2 separate regions of the Homo sapiens genome follow, and region 2 is linked to region 1. Evidence: promoter capture Hi-C in human tissues and cell types (Jung and others, 2019). All regions are on one chromosome and are shown on one strand. Each heading gives the region's core, a stretch centred on a gene start or on the middle of the fragment in contact. The rest is flanking DNA. Distances are from core to core; before and after follow the strand shown. Region 1 holds the start of FAM83G (family with sequence similarity 83 member G). Region 2 has its middle 38 kb from the start of PRPSAP2.

The links. Contacts are between HindIII fragments. The study calls those that stand out against the background at their distance.
Region 2: a contact is called between a fragment that was not itself captured here and the fragment with the promoter of FAM83G in region 1, in 1 of the 25 tissues and cell types used here (spleen).

The regions. Positions count from the first base shown.
Region 1 is chr17:19,002,102-19,008,270 of GRCh38, reverse strand. FAM83G (family with sequence similarity 83 member G) reads left to right here and starts at 3,507. Exons shown (of 6, transcript NM_001039999.3): 1 at 3,507-3,562; 2 at 4,102-4,751. The coding sequence starts at 4,230. The region is part of intron 9 of SLC5A10 (solute carrier family 5 member 10); the gene reads right to left. RefSeq lists silencers at 1,521-1,815, 3,336-3,635. The HindIII fragment of the contact is 10,221 bases long and covers 1-6,169 here.
Region 2 is chr17:18,817,040-18,823,208 of GRCh38, reverse strand. No RefSeq gene overlaps it. Among named protein-coding and RNA genes, the nearest start is that of PRPSAP2, 38 kb to the left of the region's middle. The HindIII fragment of the contact is 4,013 bases long and covers 666-4,678 here.

The sequences.
Region 1 (6,169 bases), core at 2,258-4,757:
ATTCTTGTCTACAAAACTAAAATAGAGTTAAGAGGACAGTGGGGGAAAGCACCCAGGGTACATAACATTATTCCAAAAATGCAATTCCCTATGAGCCTGGCTGGTGAAAGAAACTCCCTTTTACAACCTGCAACCAGTTTTATCTATAGCTGCTGAGATAACTTGCTACAGATCTAGGACTAATTTTGCTTACCACCATCACTTACCAGTCAGAACTCTTCAGCTCCCCAAACCCTTACCAGTGCCAAGGAACTTTCTCAAAGAGCACTAAGTAACATTTCTGCTTTCAAGAAAACCTCTAACCTTCTTTGTGTTCTCCAGACACATCAAAGACCACCCAGTCTTTGTGCATGCCCTGAATTGCAATTTTTCTTCCCAAATAAAACGTTAAATATAGAGATTCATCTCTACATTTTCATTTTGACTTCAACAAAGTGAATAGTTCTTAGACTTGATGCCAAAAGCATGATGCATAAAAGGAAAAATTGATAAACTGGACCTCATCAACATTTAAAACTTTAGCTCTGTGTAAGACACCTCGAAGAGGATGAAAAAGCAAGCTACTGACTGGGAGAAAATATTTGCAGAGCACACACCCAACAAAGGTCCTGTAGCTAGAATATATAAAGAACTTTTGAAATTCAACAGTATAAGCCTGGGCAACATAGCAAGACCATGATTCTACTAAAAATAAAAAACAATTAGCCAGGCATGGTGGTGCACATCTGTAGTCCCAGCTACTCAGGAGGCTGAAGTGGGAGGACGGCTTGAGTCCAGGAATTTGAGGTTGCAGTGAGCTATCATTAAGCCACTGCACTTCAGCCTGGATAACAGAGCAAGAGCCTATCTCTAATAAAACAAAAAAGTAAAAAAGTTAAAACTCAAGAGTTAAAAAATAGACAATCCATTTAGAAAATGGGCAAAAGACATGAACAAATGTTTCAAAGGAAAAGACAAACAGATGGCATATAAGCCCATGAAAAGAGATTCAATGACATTAGCCATCAGGAAAGCACAAATTTAAGCCACAATAAGATATGATCTACCTATCAGAATGGCCAAAAAAAAAAAAAAAAATAGCGGTAACACCACATGTTGGCAAGGATGTGGAGAAACTGGATCACTCATACATTGTTGGTGAGAATGTGAAATGGTACAGCCACTCTGGAAAAAGTTTGGCAGTGTTTGAACATGCAACTACCAGGACCCAGGAATAACACTCTTGGGCACTTATGCCAGAGAAATGAAACCTGATGTTTATATACATATGTGTATGAATGCTCATAACAAGGTTATTTGTAATAATCAAAAGCTGGAAACCCCACATATCCTTCAATCACTGAAATGGTTAAGCAAACTGTGGTATATCCATACCATGGAATACTAGTCAGCAATGAAAAGCACAAACCATTGATCCATGAAACAACCTGGATGACTTGCTGGAGAATTATGCTAAGTGGGAAAAAAGGCCAATCCCAAAAGTTTATATACTATATCTTCCATTTATATAGCATTCTTGAAACAGCAAAATTGTTGAATTGTAGAATAGATTAGTGGTTGCCAGAAGTTAGGAATGGTGGTCGGGGGAGGTGTGGGGATGGCTACAGAGAAGGAGATCTTTGTAGTGACAGAACAGTTCTGTATCTTGACTGTAATGGTGGTTACACAAATCTATACACATAATAAGGTTGTATAACACACATAAATGAGTGCATGTAAAACTGGTGAAATCTGGCCAGTGCAGTGGCTCACGCCTATAATCCCAGAACTTCGGGAGGCCAAGGTGGGAGAATCACTTGAGGCCAGGAGTTTGAGACCAGTCTGAGCAACATAGTGAGGCCTTGTCTCTACAAAAAAAAAAAAAAAAGAAAAAAGAAAAAAGAAAAAAAATTAGCTGGGCATGGTGTCTCTGGTCCCAGCTACTCAGGAGGCTGAGGCTTGAGCCCAGGAGTTCAAGGCTGCATTGAGCAATGATTGTACATACCACTGCACTCCAGCCTAGGTGACAGAGCAAGACCCTGTCCCAAAACAAACAAAAAACTGGTGAAATCTAAATAAGCTTTGTGGATTGCACCAGTGTCAATTTTCTGGCTGTGATATTATTGTATTATAGTTATGCAAAACGTCGCTACTGGGGAAAACTGGGTGCATACAACCTTCCTGCTCATCAACTGCAGAAGTGTTGGGGTGGTGGAGGTGGGAGTGAGGCCTTGGACTCCCTTCCTGAACTCTCCAGCCTCTGTGCATTGGTAAGAACACAGGGAGAAGCTGAGGCGGCTCAGAGAAGGTCTTACAGGGGATCCACAGTAGCAGAGGGGCTATAAATGGGTCTTCAGGACCCTCAAGGCAGGGCTCCCCCGCTGGGATCACCTCCCCTCTCTGGCCCTGGGGCAGGAGGAGGATGCAAATATGTGTGCCTGTTCCCCAGGGGCCACTATGTTCAGTAGCATAAAGCCCTTGGGGGGCTATATGGCAGAGTGTAGGACTTCATGCTTGAGGGGTCAGTGATGGGGACCACAAGGATGCTGGGCCTAGGAGGCTAGTCATTGCCCAGGGCAGTGGACTCAGAGGCAAGGAGTCCTGATGGGCCATGAATGGTGGAGAAGGCCTTGGAGGGGGGGGGTTTGAGGGCACAAGGCCTAGAGATGTCACCAGCCTACGGAAGCAGCATCCTTACGGGACCCAAACCAGCCCCATCCAGATCCAGAGCAAGTATGGGGGATGGGAGGAAGGGCTGGGCCTGGTGCCGGGCAGACTGGCTGCGGCACGCGATGGGGTGGGGGCTGTTTGTTGGGCCAGATTTAATGGGCTTTGCTGTCCCACCCTCAAAGCCTGCCTTCAGATGTGGTCTCCACGCTCCCCATAACCAGGGTCCCAACCCCAGGGGACGCTCAGCAGAGAGCTGGGCCTGACCCCAGCCCACAGCGGCCCTCTTGGCCCCTCCCTGCCCTAGGGTTCAGGTCGGGTGCTGCCCGCCACGCAGAAGCAGTCCGGGGACCCCTCCCAGAGGGGATCAGGGCTTAGGACTGAGAACTGGGTATCTGCTCAGGAAAGCCCTGAGTTTGGGTCAGTCAGTGCCCTATCCCTGCCTGGGGGCTCCCAGCCCAGTACCCTAGACCTGTTTCCACAACTGGACAGCTGGGTATCTATACAGCCGCACGGACTTCCCGCCACGCCGGCGAAACTGGGCACAGCCAGGGTTGATCCAGGATCACCAACAGACCCTGGGGGCACAGGGGGGTGCCAAGGCTGTTGACCCGCTGTGTGACCTCAGGGAGAACACTGTCCCTCTCTGGGATGGGTGTTCCAGGAGCTCTTGGGCTTAGGCCTCTGATATTTTCGGAATTCGGGCACCAGGGGACCGTGGGCAGTGCGTCCGCCCCAGGTCTGTCTGTCTGTCGAGGGGTGAATCAGCTTCCGGCCCCGCCCCGGGCGGCACGTGACCGCAGGTGGCGGCGGCGGGGTAAGCGGGGCGGCCCTGAGTCACCGGCGCGCCCCCGCCCAGCCTCGCGCCGCCGCCGCAGCCGCCGCGTGTGCGCCCCGCTCCGCCAGCGCCCGCTCGGTAAGCAAGTCCCGGCCGCGCCCCCCGGATCCCGGGTCTCGCGGGGCGTCGCCGCCCCGCAACCGCGTTTCTGGGTCTCCTGGACCCCTCCCAGAGCCCCAGCCTCCTCCGGGCAGGCCTCCTGGGTTGCCGGCACCCGGAAATTTTAAGACCCCTCCCTTACCCGGAAGCCCTCGGTTTGCGGGGCGCCTCTGTGCCGGGGCCGCCTCCCACTCTAAGAAGCTACTGGGAAGTTCCCCGGCTGCCCTAGTTTCCCTCAGAAGTTGCGAGGACTTCAGGCAGCTCCGGAAATCTGGGATATGGGTTCCCTGCACGTAGAGGCACGCTGAGCCCTGGGACGTGGCCCACCGCTCCCTCACCGCTGTTCCGATCCCTTACTTTCTTCCCATCCCAGTCCAGTGCCCCCACCTCATCTTCCCAGCCCCAGCCCCAGCCCCGTCCTTCCCACGCCCACCTGAGTTCCCGGCCCCGCCCCCGCCGCCCCTCCCCGCGCGGCCCGCCCTCCCCGCCGAGCCGGGCTCATCAGGTCTTTCCCGCAGATTGCTCATGGGCAGAGAAGCAGAGGCCGCGGAGAGGCCCCCGAGCGCGCGGTGCCCCAGCTGGGCCGGAGCTAGGAGCTGGACCTTGCCCACCCACCCCCGGCAGCAGTGCCCGGGCAGGCGGCGCCATGGCCTTCTCTCAGGTGCAGTGTCTGGACGACAACCATGTGAACTGGCGCTCCAGCGAGTCCAAGCCTGAGTTCTTCTACAGCGAGGAGCAGCGGCTGGCGCTGGAGGCCCTGGTGGCCCGCGGCCGGGACGCCTTCTACGAGGTGCTCAAGCGGGAGAACATCCGAGACTTCCTCTCGGAGCTGGAGCTCAAGCGCATCCTGGAGACCATCGAGGTGTACGACCCGGGCTCTGAGGACCCTCGGGGCACGGGCCCCTCTCAGGGGCCCGAGGACAATGGGGTCGGCGACGGCGAGGAAGCCAGCGGGGCGGATGGGGTCCCCATCGAGGCCGAGCCGCTGCCCTCCCTGGAGTACTGGCCCCAGAAGTCGGACCGCTCCATCCCGCAGCTGGACCTGGGCTGGCCCGACACCATCGCCTACCGCGGCGTGACCCGGGCTAGCGTCTACATGCAGCCCCCCATAGACGGGCAGGCCCACATCAAAGAGGTGGTGCGGAAGATGATCAGCCAGGCACAGAAGGTGAGGCAGCGCGGGGACTCCTGGAGCCATGGCCCAACCAGCCACCGGACCCCTCTCAATACAGGCTCACTCAGAGCCCAAAACGGGAGCCCAACATGGGCTTCTAGGGATCTCTGCTGTTTTCCCTGGCTGCCTCTTGGGTGGAGGTTTCCTCCCCACCTTCGTGGGGATCCGCAGTTTCTTTGCAGGGTAGGGTTCCCAGGTCCTAGCAGGTGACAGTGGGCTGCCCCGTCTCAAAGGGCCTCTTTATTGTTGGAGGGTGTTTCTGGTTCCCCAGAAGAAGGCACCGAGATAGGGTGGAGTGGGGAGGGGAGGAACCCCAGGGCTTCCTCTCACTCTCCCTTAGAGTGGCTCTGATTCACTGTAAAGGCGCGCACACACCATGAGCTCTCTGGTGGGGAGAGCTTTTGTTGTGGGGTGAGGGAATAGGCATGGTCCAAGTCCATCTGAGACTGGCCTGGAGGTCCTTGTTCAACACTGCCTGTTTCCTAGCTGTGCTGAGCAACTGGGAGCAGATTGCACACCCTCTCTGAGCCTCTTTGTGAGCTTTGCAATGGTGGAAACTTTCCAGGCCAGGATGCTTGGGTGAGGGAGGTGTGGTCCTCATCTGTGGAAGTGGAGTGAGTCCACCTGAGCATTGTCCACCTGAATTTTGCCACCGGAAGGGACCTCAAGCCTTCTCTGGCCCTCCCCTTCTCCACCCCTGTTGGGCTATGCAGTGCCCTAGCTGTGGGGGGCCATTCTTGGCTGACACACCGTCACACATTCTGAGAAGGGGTGCTTGCCATTTGCAGAGACAGCTAGGCCACTGCTGGACAGTTGTGACCATGAGCAGGTGCTAATGCCTGCTGCACGTAAGTACCTTCTCATCGTTTCCAAGCACATCTTAATTTGATAGATAAAGCTTACCTAGTGAGCTGTGTTGAGAAGGATTCTGAAGCCAGGTCTGGGCCTCAGGTTGTGGGATGAGGTGTTCCTAGCTGGGTCTAATCCCTTTATACTTCCAGTCCCAGAGCAGGGCAGCCAATTGCAGAAGACCAGAATGCTGGCTTCGGGGACCATCCTGGCTAACTGACAGGGCCTTGGGGAAGTTCGTGGGCAGAGAAACCAGACGTGGGTCAAGAACTGGTGAGGTGGCCCCTGGCCCTGGCCCCAGTTTCCAGGAAGGTGGAGTCCCTGCCCAACAAGGGGACCAGTTGGGTCAGCTAGCTGGGTGGGGGCGCCTGGCCCCTGGCCTGGCTGCTCTCAATTCACTGACTGACCCTGGGCAGCTTTGAGGCTTCGGGTTTCTGATCTATAAGATGGAGGTGGTGTGGATAAAAGCTGCATCTTTGGCTATTGTGAAGATGGAATATCGGGTGACAAAAGTAAGGAAGGAGTTAGAGGAAGAGGAGGAGGAGGGGGAGGAGGAAGGGACC
Region 2 (6,169 bases), core at 1,423-3,922, 180 kb after region 1:
AGCCAAGGCAATTATAGGGTTCTTTTCACTTATGTCCATTTTCCCAGGGATCACAATCATGTACTTCCTGAAATAAGTTATTTTATGTATCTTGTCCACTTTCTAGTTACTCACAGTGGGAGGATAAGTCTGGTTCTTGTTATCACATTATGGCTGAAAGTGGACATCCACGCATGTTCAAACAAAGCTTTCAACATTTTACCGTTAACTGTGATATTATAAATGTTCCCCTTAATATTGTGGGCAAGCAAGGGTGCTTGATACCACCATGTCCTTACAAAATTATACTGGAGTTCCTAGTGAAAGCAGTAACGCATAAAAAAATATGAAGATTGGAAATGAAGGAAAAAAAATCTGTCATCATTTGCAGTTTGCATGTTTGTCTAGATAAAAATCCCAAAATATCTACACAAAAATCCTAAAGTATATACATTTAAAATGAACCTTTAAAAAAATGTGATGGCATAAAATACTACTAATGATAGCAACAGAAAATGTAAAGTACCCAAAAATAAAGCTAACCACAAATAGAAAAGACCTCTATAGAGAAAATTATAAAAACTTTACTTAAAGAAATCAAGGACTTAAGAGACATACAATGTTCATGGATCAGAAGATTCAATATTGCAAAGATGAGAATTCCCCCCACTTGATACACGGTTTCAATGGAGTTATGATCAAAATTCTAGCAGAGCTTTTTTGGTACTTAACAAGTTGATTATAAAATTATTATAATCTGGCCAGGTGCGGTAGCTTACACCTGTAATCCCAGCACTTTGGGAGGTCGAGGCAGGCAGATCACAAGGTCAGGAGATCAGGACCATCCTGCTAACATGGTGAAACCCCATCTCTACTAAACATACAAAAAAATTGGCCAGGAGTGGTGGTGGGCGCCTGTAGTTCCAGCTACTTGGGAGGCTGAGGCAGGAGAATGGCATGAGCCCAGGAGGCGGAGCTTGCAGTGAGCTGAGATTATGCCACTGCACTCCAGCCTGGGCGACAGAGCGAGACTCCATCTCAAAAAAAAAAAAAATTATTATAATCTCTACTAATTAAGTTAGTGGGTATTGGTATAGGGATATTCAAATAGAGAAATGTAACTGAAAAGAGAGGCATGAAAGAGAACCACATATATAGAGAAGCTTAGTTTATGATGGAGTTGGTATTGGAGATTAATGTGAAAAGGACAGATATTTCAGTAATTGGTTAGCCACATGGGAAATAAAAAGAAATGTGATTCTGTGTTAGCCATGTTGCTGCAATTATGCTGTGTAACAAACAACTTCCCAAATCTCAGTAGCATATAATGACAAACATATATTTGTCACACAGAGGTCTATAAGTCACACAGAGGTCAGATCAGGTCTACTCCACATGTCTCTCATTCTCTGACCCAAGCTGAAGGAGTGTGGCCACCCGGGGCATGCACTTCTCATGTTGCAGGTAAGGAATACACGAGAGTAAATCAAACCACACATTTAAAGTTTCTTATTGGGTGGGACATACATTATATCTGCTCACATTCTAATCACCAAAACAAGTCACGTGGTTAAGCTCAAAGACAGGGGGGAAGTGGAGTACATTCTACCCAAAATGAATCATGGCACAGGCAGGAAGGAAAGAAAGAATTCTGAGCAAATATTACAAATTACTACAGATTCTACCTCACACCATACCAAAAAAATCAATTTGAGGAGGCTTAAAGACATAACTTATGAAACATTTAAGAGACTATATAGGAAAATATCTTTATGTTCTTAGGGTAAGAAGGAAATTCACAAATATGAAGCATAAAACAGAAACTATAAAAGATTGATAATTTTAATTGAGCTGCTATTCATGAGAAATTCAAAGTGAGATAAGACATTCACAATATATATCAGTGGCAAAGAATTAGCATTCAGAAAACACAAAGTACCCCTATAAATAAATAAGGAAAAAATAGACCTATTCACACCAGGAACTTGGTATTTGACAGAATGGCATCACAAATCAGTGAGGAAAATCTGGATTATTCAATACAGGGTGCTGATACAATTGGCTGTCTACATGGGGAAAGATAAAATGAGATCCCTACTTCAGTCTATATGCCAAGATAAATTCTAGATAATTTTAAAAGCTAAATATGAAAAGCAGCATTTTATAACTTTAAAAGAAAATGTAGCATATCATTATTACATTGATAAAGAGGGTTTTCAATGAATATTGAAAAGAGAAGTCATAAAAGTTGGTAAGTTTGGCTACATTTTTTAAAAAACTTATAAAAGTCAAAACACTCCTGGCCAAGCATTGTGGCTCACACCTGTAATCCCAGCACAATGGGAGGCCAAGGTGGGCGGATCACCGGAGGTCAGGAGTTCCAGACCAGCCTGACCAACATGGTGAAACCCCATCTCTACAAATATACACAAATTATCCAGGCATGGTGGTGCACACCTGTGCACCACCAGAGCGAGATTCCCTCTAAAAAGAACAAACCAAACAAACAAAAACCTCCCTAAACAATGTTAAACGTGAAGTTATAGAGCAGAATTTTTTTTTTTTTTTGGAGACGTAGTCTCGCTCTGTCACCCAGGCTGGAGTACAGTGGCGCGATCTCGGCTCACTGCAACTTCTGCCTCCCGGGTTCAAGTGATTCTCCTGCCTCGGCCTCCCGAGTAGCTAGGACTACAGGTGCATGCCGCCCGGCTAATTTTTTGTATTTTAATAGAGATGGGGTTTCACTGTGTTGCCCAGACTGGTCTCGAATGCCTGAGCTCAGGCAGTCCACCCACCTCGGCCTCCCAAAGTTCTAGGATTACAGGCATGAGCCACCCCGCCAGGCCTTTTTTTTCTTTTTTTTTTCTTTTTGAGACAGAGTCTCGCTCTGTTGCCAGGCTGGAGTGCAGTGGCACGATCTCGGCTCACTGCAACCTCTGCCTCCCAGGTTCAAGCGATTCTCCCGCCTCAGCCTCCCAAGTAGCTGGGATTAAAGGCACCCACCACCATGCCCAGCTAATTTTTGTATTTTTGTAGAGATGGGTTTCACCATGTTGGCCAGGCTAGTCTTGAACTCTTGACCTCAGGTGATCCACCCCCTTTGGCCTCCCAAAGTGCTGAGATTACAGGCATGAGCACTGCACCTGGCTGGAAGATTTTTTTTTTCTTTTTTTTTTTTTTGAGACAGAGTCTCACTCTGTCGCCCAGGCTAGAGTGCAGTGGCGCAATCTCGGCTCACTGCCAGCTCCGCCTCCCAGGTTCACGCCATTCTCCTGCCTCAGTCTCCCAAGTAGCTGGGACTACAGGCGCCCGCCACCACGCCCGGCTAATTTTTTGTATTTTTAGTAGAGACAGGGTTTCACCGTGTTAGCCAGGATGGTCTTGATCTCCTGACCTCGTGATCCGCCCGCCTCGGCCTCCCAAAGTGCTGGGATTACAGGCGTGAGCCACCGTGCCCAGCCGCCAGAAGATATTTTTAACATGCCAAGAAGACAAAGATTAAATATCCAGAATATTTCAAAGATGTCCTATACGCACTACAAAACACTGCTGAAGAGAGCTTGGTGCATTTGAAGAACAACAAAGTGTTTCTTGTGGTTGTAGCAGAGTGGTGTGTGTGTGTGTGTGTGTGTGTGTGTGTTACTCCCGTCTTTACATGATAAATTCCTTTGACTTAGAATGCCCTTTCACCATTTTGTTCCTGGAGTTAGAAAATACCTCATGAAAATTAGCATGACCTTCCTTTATGCTTCTCTGGTTTGTTTTATACTCTCTATTAGACAAATTTTAAAATATTATAATTCATTGAGAGTACCATTTTGCCTCCCCCTACTCCCTACTCCAAATATGAGTTTTTCCTGTTTGATTAAACAGCCTTTGAATATGTGTCACAGATCCAGCTCTGTTCTAGGTACTTTAGAATAAAGATGAATGCTTGGTTGTTTCCAGGCTATGCTGTAAATTCTAAGGAAGGGGGTTAAGGACAGGATTCTTGGAGGCAGTATGATGTGATCCCAGAGACAGGAGATAGGAAAAGGTAAGCACATGTTCTAGATGTGTTTAAATTCTCATCAAATAGGAGGCGACGCCATTCTCTGATGAGGAAGGAGATATGAAATCAGACACCCAAAGAGGCTTTCTAGAGGACATCCTAACTTTTGATAGATGTTTCCACCATCTGGGTGGCGTCCTCTTCTCCATCCCTCTGTTTTCTCAGAAGCAGTTGCTGGGGTCCCAGAGGGATGCACACAGTGGCTATAGGTGCTCACAGATCCACAGTGAAACACTCTTATCTAACCCTGGAAGGTTTTGCTGCTTGAAAACCTTTATGCCTTCATCCTAAGATACAAGGTTGCAAATAGCACCAAGAGCTGGAAACAGATGCCAGCTGAAACCTAAGAACAGACACAGTGCATGAGCAGTGTCCTACCAGGACCACCACTCGGCTCTTGGCAGTGGCAGCCCTCCTCCTCCTGGCTCTGGCAATGACCATCAGTTGCTTCATCTTCTGAAAAGGAAAACTACCCAGTTGGCCAAGCCAGATCTCCAGGAAGGAGGTGTCTCTGTCTCCTGCTTTGAGATCAGTCCTTCCACTGCTCCATCCAGGGAGCCCCAGAGAAAGTAATGTGTGAGTTGAACACACTGAAAATCTGTAGCTAGCACAGGTCAGCAGTTGAAAACAGCATGTATACAATGGCTTTCACCTACACTGTTAAAAGGCGGGCACATGCCCAATAAATGTTTATTGAGTGCCATTAGGTGCCCGGCACTGGGTCATGCACTGACAATGGGAAGGCGAATGACAAAGATAGGCTTCCTGCTGTCATAGCGTTTACAGACAGCTGGAAGCGTGTGATGGTTAATTTTTTGTGTCAGCTTGGCTAGTACTGAGTTATTTAATCAAACACTAATGTAGGTGTTGTTTGCTTTGAAGCTATTTTATAGATGTGGCTAACATCTACAATCTGTTAACATTGAGTAAAACAGGTTGCTCTTTTACTGTGTGGGAATGTCTCAGCCAGTCAGTTAAAGGCCTTATGAACAAAACTAAGATTTTCCTGAGGAAGTAGAAAGTTGACCTCAAGATTGCAACATCAGCTCCTGCTTGAGAGTTCCAGCCTGCTGGCCTGCCCGACAGAATTTGGATTTGTCAGTTCCCACAACTGTGTAAGCCAACTCCTTGAAATAAATCTCTCTCCGTGTGTGTGTGTGTGTGTGTGTGTGTGTGTGTGTGTGCGTGCGCGCGCGCGCATGCGCGCATGTGCATGCGCCCACGTTCATCTCTGGCACGAGACCCACATACAAAGGTGGTGTCCTAAGGTGTATGATTGGGGAAACTGCATGTGGTGCTTAGCACTGTAAGCCTAAGGCAGACTGTCCAGATAGGAACCTTGGATCCATCATGTACTAGATGCACCCTGACCTTGGGTCAACTCCTACATTCTCTAACCCTCAGTTTTCATCTGTAAAATGGAGGTAGTATCTCCCTCACAGGGTTATTGCAAAGAGTCAAAGAGATTAAGTATCTCACGATATTTAAGAGGTTAAATGCCCATGACCAACACAGCAAGTAAATATGAAGCCAGGATTTAAACTCATGTTTGTCTGCACTGCGTATGCCCTTTACCCGCTGCCATATCACCTTGGTCTTTGGGAATTACACTTCAGTTATCAGCTCTTTAACAGACACAGTTGCTGTAGACCACTCCTACATTGTTACAGCTTCGACTCTGCTCTACAGAGATGCCTCTTAAATGTATACCTTTGGCCTAATCCTGAGGTTGAGTTCCAGGTTTCCACTGCACTTTGCTAATTTGATATGCTCCATTGGCTTCAAATCTGACATATCTTAAATTCAAGCTCATCATCGAAGCCTCACCATTGACAAGTCCTGGCTTCACCTCTCTCTAGTTATATGACCCCGGGAAAGCTACTGATCCCCCAATCCTCAGTTTCCTCACTTGTTAAATGGCAGGGTTTGCCAAGATCAGGAAGGTAGACACATAGCACTCATAGTTCTTCTTATGTCTGACTGTGTCTACGGTACCTGTCTTGCTTGATCTCTGTACATTGTGGGTATTATATTGTACTTATTTATTCAGCATCTATTCATTCCCTGGCACTGATTTTGACTAATTTCACAATAAGATGCATGGATTTAGTCCTAACTCACCACTTGTAGGAAAACCAT